Linked DNA regions of Homo sapiens: all the other regions are linked to region 1. The links are contacts of gene promoters, found by promoter capture Hi-C in blood cells and fetal thymus (Javierre and others, 2016). All regions are on one chromosome and are shown on one strand. Each heading gives the region's core, a stretch centred on a gene start or on the middle of the fragment in contact. The rest is flanking DNA. Distances are from core to core; before and after follow the strand shown. Region 1 holds the start of NANP (N-acetylneuraminic acid phosphatase). Region 2 overlaps MIR663AHG (MIR663A host gene). Region 3 overlaps LOC124904882 (a long non-coding RNA gene).

Evidence for each region. The method cuts DNA at HindIII sites, captures the fragments that hold promoters and counts their contacts. A CHiCAGO score of 5 or more calls a contact.
Region 2: a fragment that was not itself captured here is called in contact with the fragment with the promoter of NANP in region 1 in 1 of 17 cell types (activated CD4 T cells); the score reaches 5.0 in activated CD4 T cells.
Region 3: a contact is called between a fragment that was not itself captured here and the fragment with the promoter of NANP in region 1, in 3 of 17 cell types (total B cells, monocytes and erythroblasts). The highest score is 8.7, in total B cells.

Annotation. Positions count from the first base shown.
Region 1 is chr20:25,622,491-25,625,429 of GRCh38, forward strand. It overlaps NANP (N-acetylneuraminic acid phosphatase), which reads right to left and starts at 1,524. Exons shown (of 2, transcript NM_152667.3): 1 at 1,369-1,524. The coding sequence starts at 1,458. It overlaps ZNF337-AS1 (ZNF337 antisense RNA 1), which reads left to right and starts at 1,555. Exons shown (of 4, transcript NR_126465.1): 1 at 1,555-1,645. RefSeq lists enhancers at 797-1,472, 1,444-1,613 and a silencer at 1,214-1,273. The HindIII fragment of the contact is 6,234 bases long and covers 1-2,939 here.
Region 2 is chr20:26,198,471-26,201,409 of GRCh38, forward strand. MIR663AHG (MIR663A host gene) reads right to left here. Exons shown (of 5, transcript NR_040095.1): 2 at 979-1,053. Among named protein-coding and RNA genes, the nearest start is that of MIR663A, 8.3 kb to the right of the region's middle. The HindIII fragment of the contact is 1,587 bases long and covers 687-2,273 here.
Region 3 is chr20:25,061,700-25,064,638 of GRCh38, forward strand. LOC124904882 (a long non-coding RNA gene) reads right to left here. Exons shown (of 2, transcript XR_007067555.1): 2 at 1,263-1,671. Among named protein-coding and RNA genes, the nearest start is that of ACSS1, 5.0 kb to the left of the region's middle. The HindIII fragment of the contact is 264 bases long and covers 1,401-1,664 here.

The DNA of each region.
Region 1 (2,939 bases), core at 274-2,773:
AAAGCCCAAACTCTGGGCCTACAGCAAGAATTGGCCTAAAGCAATAATTTAATTGAAATGCACAGGACTCAGCTTACTAATAACACACAGGTAAATATGTAACATCTGCAGCGAGAGATACTGGAGGCAATATGGCACAGGGTGGCACCCCTGAGGTGGAGGCCAACAAGTTAAAAGTGTGGAATGCCTCAGTAAAGTCATGAAGACAGACTTTAAAAATGTCTACTGATTCCGGCATTTTGGGAATGCCTAGTGATCCAGCAAGTCTATTTCAGTCTAGCGGTGAAGATAAAGCGACATTACGATGGATTTAGTAATAAATAGGAGGTAGAGACAAGGAGATAACGGGTATAGATTTCTCCGGGAAAACATGGCTGTCAAGAGAGACAGGCAACATCTACAGCAGGAAGAATAGCCCAAAGGGAGGCATCCTTTTTACAGCTTTTTTAAAACTATAGGGCAAACATGAATATGCGGCAGGAGTGGAATGCAGCTAAAAAGAAAACGGATGAGGTAGTGGAAGATCCAGGGACACAAAAACTAACTGATGAAGCATGAAGAGGACGGGGCGCTCAGGTTTGGATGAATTAGCTTTTGAAAGTGAGTTTTCCACATCTGATAAATCCTTCCCTTTCCCCTTGAAGCTGAAGGTAGAGAAAGGGAAGCCGGGGTGGACTGGGGCTGGAACACGGGAAGGTCTGAAAGCGCCTCCGCGCGTGTAGAGGGGCAGTGCCGCGGAGGAGCGCCTCAGGAAGGGCATGCCCTCGCAGCACGGGCTTTTGCTGTGTCACGTGTCAGAAAGCCACGGTGACCACCACCCCGCCAGGGAGGCCAGAAGAAGTTCTGCGGCGACAATTCTCTAAAGCAGGGCTTAAGTCCAGGCTCGGTACTGACAGCCGTGTCCCTTCTTGGGTCAACACTGGGGCTAACTCTACCATGTCTCCTCCCAGCAACCCCGAAAGTCGCATGGGGGACACGACCCTCTGTCGAGCTCCACACCGACAGTCTGACCGGGGGCGGGACCAGCGCCTGGTCTCGCGGCTTTGCTGTCGCCTCCCGCGCCCACGGGCACCTCCGCCACCGTGGCAGCCGTCACGGAGCCCTTCCGCGTCCCGAGCGCCAAGGCACCTGCGAGCAGCCGCTCCAGGGCTCGAGATTGGGTGACAAGCGGCCGCCAGGCCAGGGAAAGCAGACCCGCAGGGCCCGCGCGCCTCCAGCCACCTCCGCACCCGCACGCTCCACAGGTTTCAACCAGCAAGAGCGGCCCGCGGCGCCGGGGTGGAAGTGGGGTCAAGGGGAGGTGAGCGTGCAGGACGGGGCGGGGCGCACTGACCCCGCCCAGAGGAGCGCCATGGGTGGGGACGTTACCTCCAACATGCCTCTCCTGCTCGCCCCGGCCGTGTCGATGAGAGTGTTGTCCAAGTCAAAGAAAACCGCCCGCACGCGGCTCAGCCCCATAGCGCCGGCCGCTGGCGCGAACCGTAGCCTTGCCACCGCCGCCTGCGCATGCGCAAGGCGGACTGCCCAGAGAGACGTGGGAGGAGCCGCGAAGTCACCAGACCATCTCCCGGCGCGGGTGGAATTCCCGCGATCTGTCTCATTCCCTGCGCCGCCGAGAAAAGTGAGATCCCGCGAGACTCCCAGGGTATGGTCTCTCAAGAGCCCTGGAAACGTGTGTCGGCGCCGCCGGATGCGGCGACTTCTCAGTGGCTGTGGCTGGCGTTGGTCCGAAGCGTGGTGTTCTTCCCTGGTGTCTTTCTGCTTATCTCTTTCCTCCCTGGGCCCTCCGGCGCGAGGGACCGTCATCACCTCCCCGAGAGAGGTTGTCCGCGCTGCCAGGCGCTGGGCAGCAGGCTCTCCGGGTGGCCGGGCGGGCGGCGCGGAGACGTCGGCGGGCCTGATGTCTGCCTTGAGCGCCCGCGGTCCTAGCCTGCCTGTACGCGCAGGTCACTGTAGGTGATCTGGGGACGGGGGAAGGTGGAGCCTGCGCCTTCCCGCCTCGCGCCATTTGCGGCCTTCGCCGGGGTGGAATCCCTGTCTGCCTGGGCCCGCGCCAGCACGTTTCTGAAGGATGTGACTTGGGTCTCTTACAACCCGTTTAGTACCTGTGCCCTAAGACGGAGGGGCTGTGTAGTGGCTGCCCCATGTTTTGCCCTTCCTGATTGTTTTCCTGAAACCTTGCGTTCTCAGGTCTTTGGATGCCTTTTACTCGGTTGTTTTCAGGCATAGCAAGAGGTTGAGGGACGTCGACCGCCTTTTAAACCCGCGGAAGGGCTGTAGCAACTCTTGTCTCCTAGTGCTGGCAGAACGGGGATCGTAACACTAATCTCTAATCTTTGTCTCTCTTGGGTACCTTTACTGTAATTTGGATATGTGGTCATCATTAGTGACCAGAAATTGACTGTCAGGTACAGGCCAATTACCTGATTTTGTTTAGCCAGTGAGCTAAGTGGTTTTTTTTATTTTTTAATTTATTTTTATTTTTATTTTCGAGATGGAGTCTTGCTCTGTCACCCAGTCTGGCGTGTAGTGGCACGATCTTGGCTCACTGCAACCTCCGCCTCCCGGGTTCAAGCAATTCTCCGGCTTCAGCCTCCTGAGTAGCTGGGATTACAGGCGCATGCCACCACCCCCCGGCTAATTTTTGTATTTTTAGTAGAGACGGAGTTTCACCATGTTGGCCAGGCTGGTTCTCGAACTCCTGACTTCGTGATCCACCCGTCTTGGCCTCCCAAAGAGCTGGGATTACAGGCGTGAGCCACCGCGCCTGGCTAAGGGTGATTTTTACATTTGTAAATGGATTTAAAAAATCAAAATAACAGTGTTTTGTTACACATGAAAATCAAGAAATTTTAGTGCCCATAGTTGCATTAGAACACAGCGCACACATTCATTTCTGTATCGTCTGTGGCTGCTGTTGCCATACAGAAGCAGACAGA
Region 2 (2,939 bases), core at 230-2,729, 580 kb after region 1:
TAAAGCCTTATTTGTATAATAGTCAAGTTAAGATGAACATGCTTGTGACCTCTCGCAGAAATAATGAAGATTCTGCAATTTAAAGAGCAATAAAATGTAAAGATGTAATTACCAACTCTTCATTATCTTACGGAATTTCAAGATAAAATCACTTTATTTCAATGTCAAAAGACAGAGCATTAAAGTCTTTTTCAAATACCATTTAATTGGATAGATTAAGATACTTTAATATATTAATTTCTTTCCTTGTTACTGTATATTTCACGATAAGAATGCAGGGATATATATTAGACTTCTGGGAAATTGAAACTGGTGTAACTTACCAGTTAATTCTAAAATCTATTAATCATGTGCTTTGCTTATCTTTCTTCCTTGGTAAAATATGAATGTTCAAAGATATTTTCATGTTGTCTAAAGCATCCGCATTTCATATACAAATATATGAAATATATAAAATATTAACAGAATTATACCAAATATATACAAAATAAAAATATACAAAATATTAATTTAGCAGAAAAAAAAACTGTTGCATGAAGATAAGGTACAGGATGGTACTTTATCTTATGGTTTTTTGTGAACCATAGTCAGAAAAATCGGGATCAAAAATAATAAAACAAAATATACCCATTGCCTTAAGGAAATAGGTAAATGAGATAATTATATTTTTAAAGGAACTATATAAAAGCTTTATGCAAAAATCACAACCATATTTCTTGTTCCTGCACATCCCAATCAATTCATTAGATTGTTTTACACATTCTGCAAAAATATTCTAATGCAGGCAGAGAATTTGAAATGTAAAACATTATCATACTGTCTCCTATATTTAGAGCTCAGCTATGTCTCTTATATGTTAAAATGCTACTTCTGTTTGACACACACTCTTACACCTACTGAGGAAAAAAATTGCTTCATATTAACAAAGTGAATTATCTCTTTTGAGTAACATGAGTAACCTGGTCAATAGTTACTTACCGTGTGTTAGTTATGGGCTGAACTGTGCTCCTCTCTCCCAAAATTCATATGGTGAAATTCTAAAGCCTAGTATTTCTGAAAGTAACCATATTGGGATGTTTTAAATAAGAATTCATTTAAAATGAGGCCCTCGGGGTGGGTCCTAATCCAAAAAAATGGTGTCCATATAAAATAAAATTTAGAAAGGGGTAAAAATCAGCTACATGTATGCACAGAAGTACAACTGTGTGAAGATAGAGCTGTGAGAAGGCAACCATCTATAAGCCAAGAAGAGAGGCCTAGAACAGATCCTTCCATCATGGTCCTCAGAGGAGCACTTTGACCTTGGATTTACAGCCTCTAGAACTGTGGGAAAATAAATATCGGTTGTTTAAGCCACCCAGTCTGTGTGTGTGTGCATGTGTTTAAGTGCCACCTTAGAAAACTAATATAATTGACAAAAGACATAATGGACTTTTTAAAGCCAGCACCCAACTACGTTAGCATCATTTTCAGATGTTTGTTTTAGTTTGTTTATTTTATTTTATCAAGTATTATAATGATAATTAAAAAAAAAAAGTTACATGAGGTGGTTCACACTTTTAATCCCAGCACTTTGGGAGGCAAAGGTGGGAGGATCACTTGAGGCTGGAAGTTCAAGACCAGCCAGAGCAACATAATGAAAGCCAATGTCTACAAATTTTTTTCTTTAATAAAAAATAAAGCTGGGTGTTTTTATAATAATGTGTTTTATTATAAAGCACACACCTGTAGTTCTAGCTACTTGGGAGCTGAGTTGGGAGGACTGCTTGAGCCCAGGAGATCAAGACTACAGTGAGCCATAATTGCACCACTGCACTCCACCCTGGGTGACAGAGTGAGACCCTGTCTGTAAAAAATAAATAAATAAATAAAAATAGATAAAAACAATTTCAAAACTTAAGACTAAAGAAACTCAGAAAACTGTCAATTACATTTTGCTCTGATTTTTCTCTTGTATATAGTATAATGAAATGTTACATCAACTTGCCATTTTTAAAAGTAAAAATCAGATGGATTTAGCTGGGCACAATACCAGTTGTATTGAGAATTTCTAATGTCACTCAGATGAAAGACTTGAAGGAAAGGAGATAGATTTAGAAGGAAAAGGAGACAGACTTAGCAGGAGAGATGGTTAATGAGATCAGTCATTCAAATAATCTACCTACTAGTAAAGTTAGACAAACAAACAAACGGCAACAACAACAACAAAACCCTACCCATCATCTTTAGAGAAAAATCATAGTCTCCCACTTGAAATAACACATTCGTCTGGAAGCTTAAATAAAAGAACACATATTTTCACACAGCACAAAAGAATTATTTTTATATTTGGAACACGATTGCTACAGAATTATGAAAAGAAAAAAATACAGACTGTAGAGAACAAAATAAGACAAGCTTCCATCAAGAAGGAAACATAAAATATACTAACTTGAAATAACAGATATACACAATATATGGAGTTCAAGTTTTTAGTGTTGACTCCAGCCGAGATATATCGGAGGCAAAGAAAGATTTGCAAAGGATTCATGAATTATCCAAAGTTAAACATGTTATATCTAACCAAGCCAGACCTAGAACACATTATTGGTCATATTCTTTCCATTGACTATGTCTAATTCCTCTTAAAGTTTTTTCCCTTTACATATAAATCCTACACACATTACCACTTTGGTAAGATAAACAGAACAAAACACTTATTTTTTCTTTCAGCACTTTGGATGTGCTATCCCATTGTGTTCTGACTACCATTGTTTCTGATGAAAAGTCAGGTGTTAATCATAAAGTCATTTCCTTGTATGGATGAGTTATTTTTCTTTTGCTTTCAAGATTAACTCCCTTCACATTTTGTTTAATCCAGAATTATTAGAAACTCTAAATTTGAGACTCAAAGTCACTCATCAGATCACCACAAAATTTCAAAACATACATACTTAGAA
Region 3 (2,939 bases), core at 283-2,782, 560 kb before region 1:
TAAGGTCTTCTACAGTTGCAATGAGAAAAGTAGGTAGAACTAACTCTGTTTTAAAATAAATGCTACCTCGTTCCTTCTGGTTGGATAAGAAGAAGTGATCATTTCAGAACCAAACATGTCAGAACCAACCAGGTGGTGCAGAACTGCACTTCTTGCTGCCCGAGTTACCTAGAGGTGGCCTTGAGACCTTCCTTCTGAGTGTCACAGCCCAGGCCAAGGTCGTCCCCACTGCCTCCCTCCTGGCAGCCAGTCATCAACTCTTGCAGAACAAGCACAAGATTGAACAAGCACAAGGAGCACCCACTCTTGGCCCTGCATCCCGAAGGACCCTCAGAGGTTTGGACAGGGCAGCAGGCTATCTGGGCAGTGCTGGTCACATCTTCTCCCTAAGAAGCCGCTGGCCTCAACTTCAGGAGAGCTCACTTGGAACGCTGGATGCTGTCAGGCAGGGGCTGCAGACACACGAAGTGCTTAGAGGGCAGGGTTCTTGGGAATCCGGGATTCGCTTCTGTCTCGGTACTAATGTTTAGGCCAGAAATGCCAACACAGCTGTGACTACTGACCCTACAACCTGCAGCAGTGAATGCTCTTGCCCTTGCTGTACATGTGTGAAAATAAGCAGGAGGACAGAAGCTCACCCGAGGCCACCAGCTAGTAGGTAGCAGAGCCATAGCGTCCAGAGCATCTTAATTTAACAGCTTTAGGGACAGAGCCCACCAACACGGCCTTCGCCATTTGCCTTCATAGCTCCTGCCATGCCCATTACTCCAGAGTCGCAGTGCTCAGATGCTCAAGAAACAGTCCTGGCTGATAACGGATCCCCAACCACTCCCTGTGCACTCAGTGGTCTCCAAAGAGCTGGTAAAACCCTCCCTTCCTCTTCTCTCCTCCATCTCTCCCTCTTCCTGTTCTCTTCATTTGTCTCTGTGACCCCACACACACACACCTCTTTCCAATGACACTCAGAAGAAACCTGTGAGCTTCTCCCATGTGCACCACCAAGAGCTGAGGGCTCTCAGTTGGACAAGGACGGTCCAGTTTTGGTCCCTGCAAGCAAGCAGGTCACAGTTCAAATTGGGGAGAGACAGACACTGTTCAAATAGCTGAAATGCACAGTAAAACCAAAACACAGAATTTAGAAGAGCATGGCAGAGCTCAGATCAAGTACAGGACCCAGATGCTGGGAGTCTGGAATTGGCTTCGTCACCAGTTCACTGAGTTCTTTCTCTACTCTGCATCAGCTACAAAGAAAGATCACCAGATTGGGGAAAAGGAAAAGCAGGTTTTATTCCCGGCCAGGCATGGAGAAGGAGAGAGCACTTGCTCTAAAGACAGCTTCTTCCAGAGCGGTGGGGAGCTGGGGAATGTAACAGGGTTAGATGTGGGGCAGGAGCTATGTAAGCTTATGTGGGGAGGAACTTCAGACACGCAGGTGCAGATCATGAACAGGCTCTTCATACGACACGTGTGCAGAAAGTGGCAACGATTCTCTTCTATGATTCTCTTCTATGAGTGGGGACTTTAGCATTATAATGATATGCTAATGATCTAAAGGTGACAGGGGCCACTGGTTCTGGTTTGCTCGGTTTTGGGCAAGCCTTACTTCCTCTGGTAATTGGCGAAGCGTCCTGAAGTTACCAGGCCACCCAAAGTTCTTTTAAGCAAGCTTACCTATAGATAAAGAGATGAGAAAAAAAATTGAGTAAGAAAAAATGAGGAGCTTTCTCAGCTATATCTCTAGGGCTGCCATGGTGGCAGCTTCACAAGGTGACAGGGCTCCCTTCCCTTCTGGCTCCTATTTCTCGATGTCCCCATGAACTCCGGGTGAGGATGAGGTATGTGGAGTCTGCGCATACATCTGCTTCAGCAGGGGGCTTGAGGATCCCATATGGCTGCAACACACCATAGCCTCATGCACTGTGGCACTGTGCACAAAGCCCTGCAGAAGTGCAGTGCGCCCCTGACCCTGCGGGGTCAACCCAACAACACACAGCGAAGCACAGGACGAGAGAGGGTGGCCACAAGCGCAAGAAGAGCTGGGAAGTGGGAGTGCAATCCAGCAACTGCCTGGCGTCCTTCCTGGGGCTGCGGGATACCCGGCCAGGCAGCTATGCTCTCTGATGCTCTGAGGGCGGTGCAGGAGGCAGAACAGTTGGGCTCTGTGGTGGGGCAGCTCCTGGTCAGCATGAGCGACATGGTAACTCAATTCCAGCAGCACCAAATCCTGGTAACTCTTAATCACTCACCCCAGCCATCCATGAGCATGCACGGCTGGGGACATCATCCATCAACCACCCATAGAACAGACTTCCCCACAAGACCCCTTGCAGCCCTCAGTGTTCAAGGAAGACACCATGAAAATCATTACACCTGGGAGAACAGTCCCTAACTGCCAGGCCTGCAGGGCCAAGGGGGGCACAGCAATTGCCCCCACATGCCAATGCCCTTCCCCATTCCCAAGCTGCCTCTCCTGGGGTTCCCCTACTGTGGTAGCTGCACTGCCTTCTCTCGCTCAAGGCCAGGCGTCACTTTTAGTGCTATTTGAGAGCTGTAAGTCTCTGAGATCACAGGGACATCTTGGGGTCACTCCAAGGGCAAAGCTCTGAGAACTTTGAGCTGTGGCCACTGTCCTGCCTCCTGTGTGGATCAAAAATGGCTTCCTCCTTCATGGAGCTCCTGAGTGTACAGATAGCACTAGACAGGGAGCCAAGGGAGAGGCCTAGAACCCCTCCTGGCTTCTGCCCTCTGTTCTGCCTCCAACCTGCCATGTGGCAAGGCCCCTGACATCTCTAGGCCTCAGTTTTCTCATCTGCAAAATGAACCAATGAGATCCAAATTCTGAATCCTTGAGCTCTAAAATTCCAAGAGGTGTATGAGTCCCATTAAGAACATGCCAGACTTAATAGCCAGAGTTTCTACTCCTTTCCCAAAATCACAGC